Regions from separate parts of the Homo sapiens genome. Here region 2 is linked to region 1. The links are contacts of gene promoters, found by promoter capture Hi-C in blood cells and fetal thymus (Javierre and others, 2016). All regions are on one chromosome and are shown on one strand. The core of a region is centred on a gene start or on the middle of the fragment in contact, and the rest is flanking DNA. Distances in the headings are between cores, read along the strand shown.

Region 1 (4,372 bases), core at 1-2,500:
AGCCTGTGCGATGAGAGGCTGTTTAGAAGAGGGCTCGCAGCAATGAGTTACTTTGATAGTCCCCTGTTGCTTCTGTTTTCTCAGGCAGGCAGTTTTCCCAGTTCAGGAAGGTTGGTTCCCTTCTCCCCTGACTCTCACCAGTTCTGTAATGAATTCTGCTGCCTGAATACTCTTTCTTTTTTCCTTCTCTAGCCTAAATTAAGCCCATTCTTCAGGGCTTTGTTCAGGTCCTACATACGTTCCCTAGGAGGCCTCTCTTCTGAGTTTCAAATGGCCCATTTCCCTCCTGTGAATTCCCAGAGCCCCTGGGAGATTCTCCTACGCATTTTGGTTCTGAGTCCTTTCCTTTTTGGTTTATTGGTTTCTGAATTGATTTATTCATTTTATTATTTAAGAAAAATTAGTGACAACTCTCCACCAGGCTTTGGATAAGGTTCTAGAAATTCTTCAAACAACGAGACATCTGGGTTTTTTGTTGTTGTTGTTGTTGTTTGTTTTCTTAAACAGAGACAGGACCTTGCTACGTTGCCCGGGCTGGTCTCAAACTCCTGGGCTCAAGTGATTCTCCCACCTCGGCCTCCCAGAGTGTTGGGATTATAGGTGTGAGCCGCCACGCTTGGCCAAGACATCTGTTTTATACAGCACTTTGTCTCTTCAGGTAAAATGTGAGCTCCTAGATGTTGGGGACCACTTCGTTTGGTGGCCACGATCTTCACTCTCTTTGTCCTTCTCCTAACTCATTCTCTTGCAAAGTGTTCGCTGTCCAAGGAGTGCTTGATGCATACTTCAGAATGAGTGAATAAATCAATCGATCAGCTAACTCAGTAACCTGTTAATCTAGTTCACAGTTTTTAAAACCTAGGTCTTCTTGTATCACAGAGAACCAATTATCTTATTTAATATAGGTGTACCCGTTTCTAAGAAAAAAAAGACACGTTGAGTTAAAACTATGACAAGAATTCAAAGTTGAGAGAGATGAGTATTCACTTTCCAAAAGACATTTTTGCTTTACCAAAAGGCTTGCCATGAAGTTTCTTTATGTTGTGAGTTCCTGTCTCTAAAATATTTGAAATGCAGTCAACCATTTAGTAATGCAACCTCTAAATGAGGCGAGAGAGAGGTACAGGCAGTAACAACCAACCGCTATTACCTGCTTGGGCTGCCGTGGGCAGAGACCTCCTTGTTCTTAAAAGTACTCTGAGGACAGTGATGGGTACAGCTGCCTCCTGCTGCTGGATCAACTGCAGAGTGGCAGGGCCTGATTCCTTTACATCATTCAAAGGGTATTGTGACGCACACTGGCTTGCAAGGTTTTGCCAGGCAATGCCTTTCAGGTCCTGGGCTTAGAAAAAGAGTGCTCCTTTGGTCTCTAGGGAGAGACCAGCTGCACATGAAAGAAGGGGCAAAAATTACTGTGAAAAGGAAAATCATGTAGGCAAATAACCAGGCTATCTAATCACTAGAGCTTGCTTTCCTGTAAAGATTGTCCCAAGGACAACGTAAGGTGAAAATCTGGGTGGTGCCACACTGAGGAGTCCTGCCCTTTGCAAGCTGGAATTGAGGAAGGATGGTTTGGCACGAGGGGCAGATGAGGCCAGCCCCGCCTTGTCCAAGGTTAGGTCAGGCTCCAACCTGCTCCTTTGCAGGTATCAAAGGATAATTTTAATTATTTAAAAATATGCTGCAAACCAATCCATGGAGTATCACAACAGCACCACTATATAGAAGCAAGCCATAACCTGAGAAGAAGAGAGTGGCAAAAATATTTATTCTGACCAACCTCTGTCAAAACCAAACCAAACCAAAACGAAACACTGGCATTTTTTTTTCTTTTTTTTTTTTTGTGATGGAGTCTCTGTTGCCCAGGCTGGAGTACAGTGCCACAATCTCGGCTCACTGCAAGCTCTGCCTCCCGGATTCAAGCGATTCCCCTGCCTCAGCCTCCTGAGTAGCTGGGACTACAGGCGCGTGCCACCACGCCCGGCTAAGTTTCTGTATATTAGTAGAGACGGGGTTTCACCACGGCCAGGATGGTCTCGATCTCCTGACCTCATGATCCTCCCGCCTCGGCCTCCCAAAGTGCTGGGATTACAGGCGTGAGCCACCACACCCAGCCAACACTGGCATTATCTACAGTAGGTTGTCCTGGAAACAGGGACACTTCTCACTTATATACAGTTTGCAGGTTAGAATGTAAAATATTTCCATAAGATTCCAGAAGGCACTCAGGAGAGACCAGGGGCCAGGCTGGGTTCCTGCTGGGAGCTTAACCTACATGGAACAGGCATAAAATAATGTAATGACAGAGTCTTGGTGACAGCATTTTGTTGAAAGCAGATAAGCTAGGGAAAACTTAAATAAATATATGAGGACAGAAGCAACAAACTGGAACCACACTAAGAGAAAGGATAAATTGGTTTGATTTGTTGAGTGAGCACCACACGTTTTTTTAGCTATTAGACACACACCATCTAGAATCTCCACCACCACCATGGAAGGAGATTCTCTTTTGAAAATGAAGTATTTCTATTTGAAATGAAGGCTAAGAGAAGAAGCTACGGAACTTGCCTAACAGTCACACAACGAGGCCGTAATGAATCTATGATTTGAATCCAGCTATTTGACGTCAAAGGCGTTTTAAGAGTAATAACCAGTATTCTTCACTGAGGAAAAAAAATGAACAAAAAATCCCCATGTTCTTTACGTAAGACATACCTGGCAATATAACAGAAAGTACAAAGAAGAAAGTTTCACTCGCGTTCGTGTGAAGAGACAACCAAACAGGCTTTGTGTGAGCGATAAAGCTTTTTAATCAGCTGGGTGCAGGCCGTCTGAGTCCGAAAAGAGAGTCAGCAAAGGGGAGATAGGGGTGAGGCCGTTTTATAAGATTTGGGTAGGTAAAGGAAAATTACAGTCAAAGGGGGGTTGTTCTCTGGCGGGCAGGAGTGGGGGTGACAAGGTGCTCCGTGGGGGAGCTTTTTGAGCCAGGATGAGCCAGGAGGAGGAATTTCACAAGGTAATGTCATCGGTTAAGGCAAGGACCGGCCATTTTCACTTCTTTTGTAGTGGAATGTCATCAGTTAAGGCAGGAACAGGCCATTTAAATTTCACTTCCTCTGTGATTCTTCAGTTACTTCAGGCCATCTGGATATATACGTGCAGGTCACACCAGCAGGCTATCAGTAAAGTCCTCCTTACCGGTGGGAGGTGGAGTAGGGCTAGCCCCTGGCATTCTGTAGGGAAGCAAGTGTTAAAACTTTCACTTAAGCCGGGCGTGGTGGCTCACGCCTGTAATCCCAGCACTTTGGGAGGTCAAGGCGGGCGGATCACCTGAGGTCGGGAGTTCGAGACCAGCCCGGCCAACATGGTGAAACCCCCGTCTCTACTAAAAATACAGAATTAGCCGGGCGTGGTGGCGCATGCCTGTAATCCCAGCTACTCGGAAGGCTGAGGCAGGAGAATCGCTTGAATCCGGGAGGCAGAGCTTGCAGTGAGCCGAGATCGAGCCATTGCACTCCAGCCTGGGCAACAAGAGCAAAACTCCGTTTCAAAAAAAAAAAAAAAAAAGTTTCACTTACAGCACAAAAGGACAGAGTAGGAGGAGGAGGAAGCAACTGGCAGGTGCAGTTTCTCAGGCATTTGAGAGGTTGGAGAAGTCATTATGAGAGTAATGAAACTGGCTGGTTCCTGATGAGTACAATCTATGCTTTGCAGTAAGACGGTAAACATCATCATTAATTTAGGCAAAGTGTGAAAGCAGGGCTCCCCCTTTGCAGCATACAGAGGGGCTCTCATTTCCTGCAGCAGGGGGGCAGGAAAAGATGAGAATTAGACTAAGGATTTAAATATAAGGGTAGTGGGGCCCCCGAGAAGAACCTGGCAAATCTGCTCTGCCAACATCATGGCTGAGTTTGGAAAGGATTGGTGACCTCAGATTTGGTTGAGGACAAAGAGGTCAATGCACTTGACGGCTTGCAAACTCAGATTCCTCTCTGTCCGGGGTTATTATTCCTCCCTGGCTTGACGGCTTGAAGATAATGCAGGGGTCGTCTCACCACCGCTTCAGGATTTACCATTTCCTCTGCTGGCCGCCAGACGATAATTAGATGGAGCAGCAACATGACCCGCAGGGGAAGTGCCTGACCCACTAAGAGAGGAAAGAAATGATGAGTCAAAGAAAAATAATCTGAATTTCAGTCAGAAGGAAAGATTAGACAAATTCAAACATTCTACAGCATAACTGGCCTGGACTCTTTAAAAATGATAAAGTCAAAAAAGATACCAGAAGGCTGAGAAACTCTTCTAGATTAAAAGAGAACAAGAGATATGACAAAGAAAAGCAATCCGTCCTCTTGGGCTGGGTCCTGGCCCA
Region 2 (4,372 bases), core at 1,148-3,647, 960 kb after region 1:
TATATTCCTTTTACTTTAAAAATAATATTGGAGAGCAGAACTTTCTTTTAGAGACATACTCTGGCTTAGGGCTACTATGAGAACAATTCTATGTTTTTGCTTTTTCTTTCCTATTTTCATTGAACCTGATGCTCATTGTTGTTGAGTCAGGCAAGTGGTGTGGGCAATACATTCTCGGTTTCCTCTGGGCTTCTTCAGGAAATGAGTTGGCTGCCGCTGCCACCATGCTCCAGGCTGTGGGCCTATGTGGCAGGGGAGATGAGTGCATCCCCAGTGGAGATTTTCATTGCATTCACATTTGGGCTTCACAGAACTGAGAGGAGCGAGCCAGGGAACGTTAAGCAGAACCTGCAAACACACATTTCCTGGCACTGCCTGACTTTCGAACCTCTCCCGCCCCGGGCCACACTGAGACCAGGGTTCTTAGCCCTTCAAACAGGTGGAGCAGAGCAGGCTCAGGCAGTGTGGTGTCCACCAGAGCAAAATGAAATGCCTTTTCTTTTCTGGCTTTCTGACAGCCTGTTTTCTCTGATACTGGGTGGGGGAAGGAAAAGAGGACGCAATTTAAAACAGCACCAAGGCCATCTATTTCAAGCCTTGAAGATGTTGGTTGCACATATATCCATTTAAAATTATTTTTGACACATTCTCTGCTTAATTTATTCATGAAAGGAGTACAAGAAAAAAATGAGCTTAACTTTGAAATGGAAACTTTAGGCTAAAAATTCTTGAATAAAACTCAGGAGGAAAAAAAAGATAAAGTTCACTGTAAAATAGCAAGAATATACATCAATGTTATAATATCCTCTTCAAATAAACAGATAATGAGTTTGGCTTTTTGACCTAAGCTTGTTGTTATCTTAAGATGAGTTCCCCCCAACTTTTTGTTTTAATTTTCCCAATAATAAAGAGCAAAGGGAACTTTACTCAATGTTTATAGAAAATCTGCTAAACACCCAGTGCCTGACTTGGTGCTGGGGGCACAGAGATGAAAGAGACCTGCTTCCTGGTCTGGGTGCTGAGATTTTACAACACCAAAAGTGTTTCTATCTCAGTTTGAAACAAGCTTTTGCCCTTCATCCCCTGCCTACTCTCCTCCCTCCTGGATGCCCAACCTCAAGCTTCCCCTTCGGAGGCTCGGCTTCCTCATCTATAAAGGACTGTTTTTTCTTAGGCTTGCTGGAAGCAGTGAGAAGCATAGCATCTCAAGCTTCTTGTGGTAAATGATCAGCATATTTGTTTTAATTTCTAATCTTTTGCAAATAGTTTTTTAAAACACAATAAAAATGAATTACTAGAAAAAAATTTAAAAGATACTCCCCCAAAAAAAGCTCATTGATCATGCGCTTGAAAATTGTGACAATTTAAAATTGATATAAAATTTGCCAAATACTTCTGTAGATTCCGGTACTTATCTTGCCATAGACACTAACAAGCAGCCATCATGGGCCACAGCTGGAACAGCACTATGCAGAAACCAAGCACAATACATGTGCATGCTAGAGATTTAGCTGTGCTTCTTTCTTTTTATATTCTAAGAGTTTTCTAAGTAAAACAACAAAGAGACCCTGTTGTTGTGAAGAACTGATGATGCCTCTTTGGACTTATCACATGTTGACAATGGAGAATATCATTTTCCAACATACATGGACAAAAATGTGCACTTCACTCCCCTCTCTCCACTTGAAACCATTTCTTAGAGGAAAAATCAGGACTTGCATTTTTATTTATTATTTTTTTTTTGGGGGGGGGAGGGGGGACAGAGTCTCGCTCTGTCGCCCAGGCTGGAGTGCGATGGCAATCAAAGCTCACTGTAGCCTTAAACTCCCAGGCTCAAGCAGTCTTCCCAAGTAGCCAGGACTACAGGCACGCACCACCACGTAGCCTCCCAAATAGCCAGGACTCAGGCACGCACCACCACGTAGCCTCCCAAATAGCCAGGACTCAGGCACGCACCACCACGTAGCTTCCCAAATAGCCAGGACTCAGGCACGCACCACCACGTAGCCTCCCAAATAACCAGGACTCAGGCATGCACCACCATGTAGCCTCCCAAATAGCCAGGACCCAGGCACGCACCACCACGTAGCCTCCCAAGTAGCCAGGACCCAGGCGCGCACCACCATGTAGCCTCCCAAATAGCTAGGACTACAGGCATGCACAACCATGCCTGGCTAATTTTTTAATTTTTTTTTTTTTTTTTTGGTAGAGCTGGGGTCTCATTATGTTGCTCAGACTGGTCTTGACCTCCTGGCCTCAAGTGATCCTCCCACCTTGGCCTCCCAAGGTGCTGGGATTACAGGCATGAGCCATGGCACCTGACCAGGGATTATATTTTTAAAAAGACAACAAGGGCAACAGTGCAGATACTTGGTGTTTTACTCACCCAGGATCCCTGACACCTTTCCCCTAGTAAGAGCACTTCCCCTTACTTAGTGAAACTTTCTTCCCTTATTCCATGTGGTTCTGAAGAGGCTACCAGCCACAGCACCCAAAAGTGCGTGTGTGTGCCCAAGGGTGATCCTAACCAAAGGTTTTGAAATTGGAAGTGAAGGAGCTAGGAAGTCACATTCTTACAGTTTGAAATCAAAGGTATTTCCTTTATCATCAATTTCAGAATGAAAGATGTTTTACTTCATGGTATGAAAGAATCTGAAAGAATTAGCAAAATTCAGATAGAAATTGAGCCCTGTTCTGGAAAGTTAGAATATGATAGCATGCTGGCTCCAGGAAACCCTGAGTCCAGCTGCACCTGGATTGTACATGGTCTAGTTATAAAAATTTATCAATTTCTCCTTTTTGGATTTCAGTTCACCCAAAAAGTCCTGACTCGTATGGATAGGCTGGGAGGTCAAACAATTAATTTCAAGAAAATATCTGTACTAGAGGCCGGGCACAGTGGCTCACACCTGTAATCCTAGCACTTTGGGAGGCTAAGGCAGGCAGATCACCAGAGGTCAGGAGTTTGAGACCAGTCTGGCCAACATGGTGAAACCCCGTCTCTACTAAAAATACAAAAATTAGCCAGGCATGGTGGTGCCTACCTGTAATCCCAGCTACTTGGGAGGGTGAGACACGAGAATTGCTTGGACCTGGGAGGCAGAGGTTGTAGTGAGCCAAGACCACACCACTGCACTGCAGGCTGGGCAACAGAGCAAGACTCTTGCTTCAAATTAAAGAAACAAATAAGTAACTGTACTAGTTACTATGTGGAAACTGAAAGCCCTGGAAAGGCAGCCTCTATCACTCTCCCCACATGATCTATCCATCATAACAGGTTAACCTAGTGACTCCTCTGCTGTACCCTTTTCTCACTTTCAAAAAGACACAAATCCTATAGGTCAAGTTGCTGTCTCTCTAGGTCACAGGTCAGATCTTCCCATCTGGATCACAAAAGTAGGTCACAGTATAATACCTGTTTGGTGGACTCTCACTTAGATTCCTGCTCTGAGAAATTCTTTGAAGTACATACATATTATTAAAAAGATCATTTATGTAAAAGGAGAAATAAGAATTTTTAAGGTTTTGTACTTAGGGCAATCCGAGTTCTAAATTCTCTGGATAATAAACAAAAGAAAGCTTCCTGCAGTAGTTCCCCTCAAGATCAGATACAAGAAAAAAAAAATGCAGGATTTAAAAAAATGTGTTTCAGTACATGGGCAAAAGGTATGGAAAAGAATGTCTCAGTAAGCAGTTAATAAGAATCACATAAACGGTAAGAAGTGGTTGCTTTATTCAGCCATATCGTAAATTAACCCAACCACGTGTGTATAAATGGTAGTCATATGAGCGGCATAAGCCACCGCCCCTGGCCTAAGATGAATACATTCTTAACCTCCGAGGTGATACCTATAGCTCTTTACAGATATTTGGACATGTCAAAAATAAATACTTGAAAAATTTCTACTTTTTAATAAAAGCCTCTCTTTCTTCTTGGGTGAAAATTAAGTAAGGGAGTAAAGTAGAATGACAATGGCATTATAATATGTTTAAATGACAATGGCAAATAATGGGCCAAGGGAAACTATGTTTCTTAGGAAAAATTCAAGCCAAAATTCACCGTCACGTGTCATGCATAAGGGAGCAGCTAACACTTCTTTCCTTTCTTTCTTTCTCTCTCTCTCTCTCTCTCTCACTTTCTTTCTTTTTTGAGATGGAGTCTCGCTCTGTCACCCAGGCTGGAGTGCAGTGGCGCAATCTCGGCTCACTGTAACCTCCACTTCCCGGGTTCAAGAGATTCTCCTGCCTCAGCCTCCTGAGTAGCTGGGACTACGGACGTGTGCCATCATGCCCAGCTAATTTTTTGTATTTTTACTGGAGACGGGTTTTTACCATGTTAGCCAGGATGGTCTTGATCTCCTGACCTCGTGAT

What was found. The method cuts DNA at HindIII sites, captures the fragments that hold promoters and counts their contacts. A CHiCAGO score of 5 or more calls a contact.
Region 2: a contact is called between a fragment that was not itself captured here and the fragment with the promoter of SPMIP3 in region 1, in 4 of 17 cell types (total B cells, total CD4 T cells, activated CD4 T cells and 1 more). The highest score is 7.0, in total B cells.

Annotation. Positions count from the first base shown.
Region 1 is chr1:244,349,513-244,353,884 of GRCh38, reverse strand. SPMIP3 (sperm microtubule inner protein 3) reads right to left here and starts at 1,250. Exons shown (of 5, transcript NM_001012970.3): 1 at 1,151-1,250. RefSeq lists an enhancer at 3,241-3,300. The HindIII fragment of the contact is 3,357 bases long and covers 1-2,806 here.
Region 2 is chr1:243,386,531-243,390,902 of GRCh38, reverse strand. The region is part of intron 13 of SDCCAG8 (SHH signaling and ciliogenesis regulator SDCCAG8); the gene reads right to left. Among named protein-coding and RNA genes, the nearest start is that of MIR4677, 43 kb to the right of the region's middle. The HindIII fragment of the contact is 2,369 bases long and covers 1,213-3,581 here.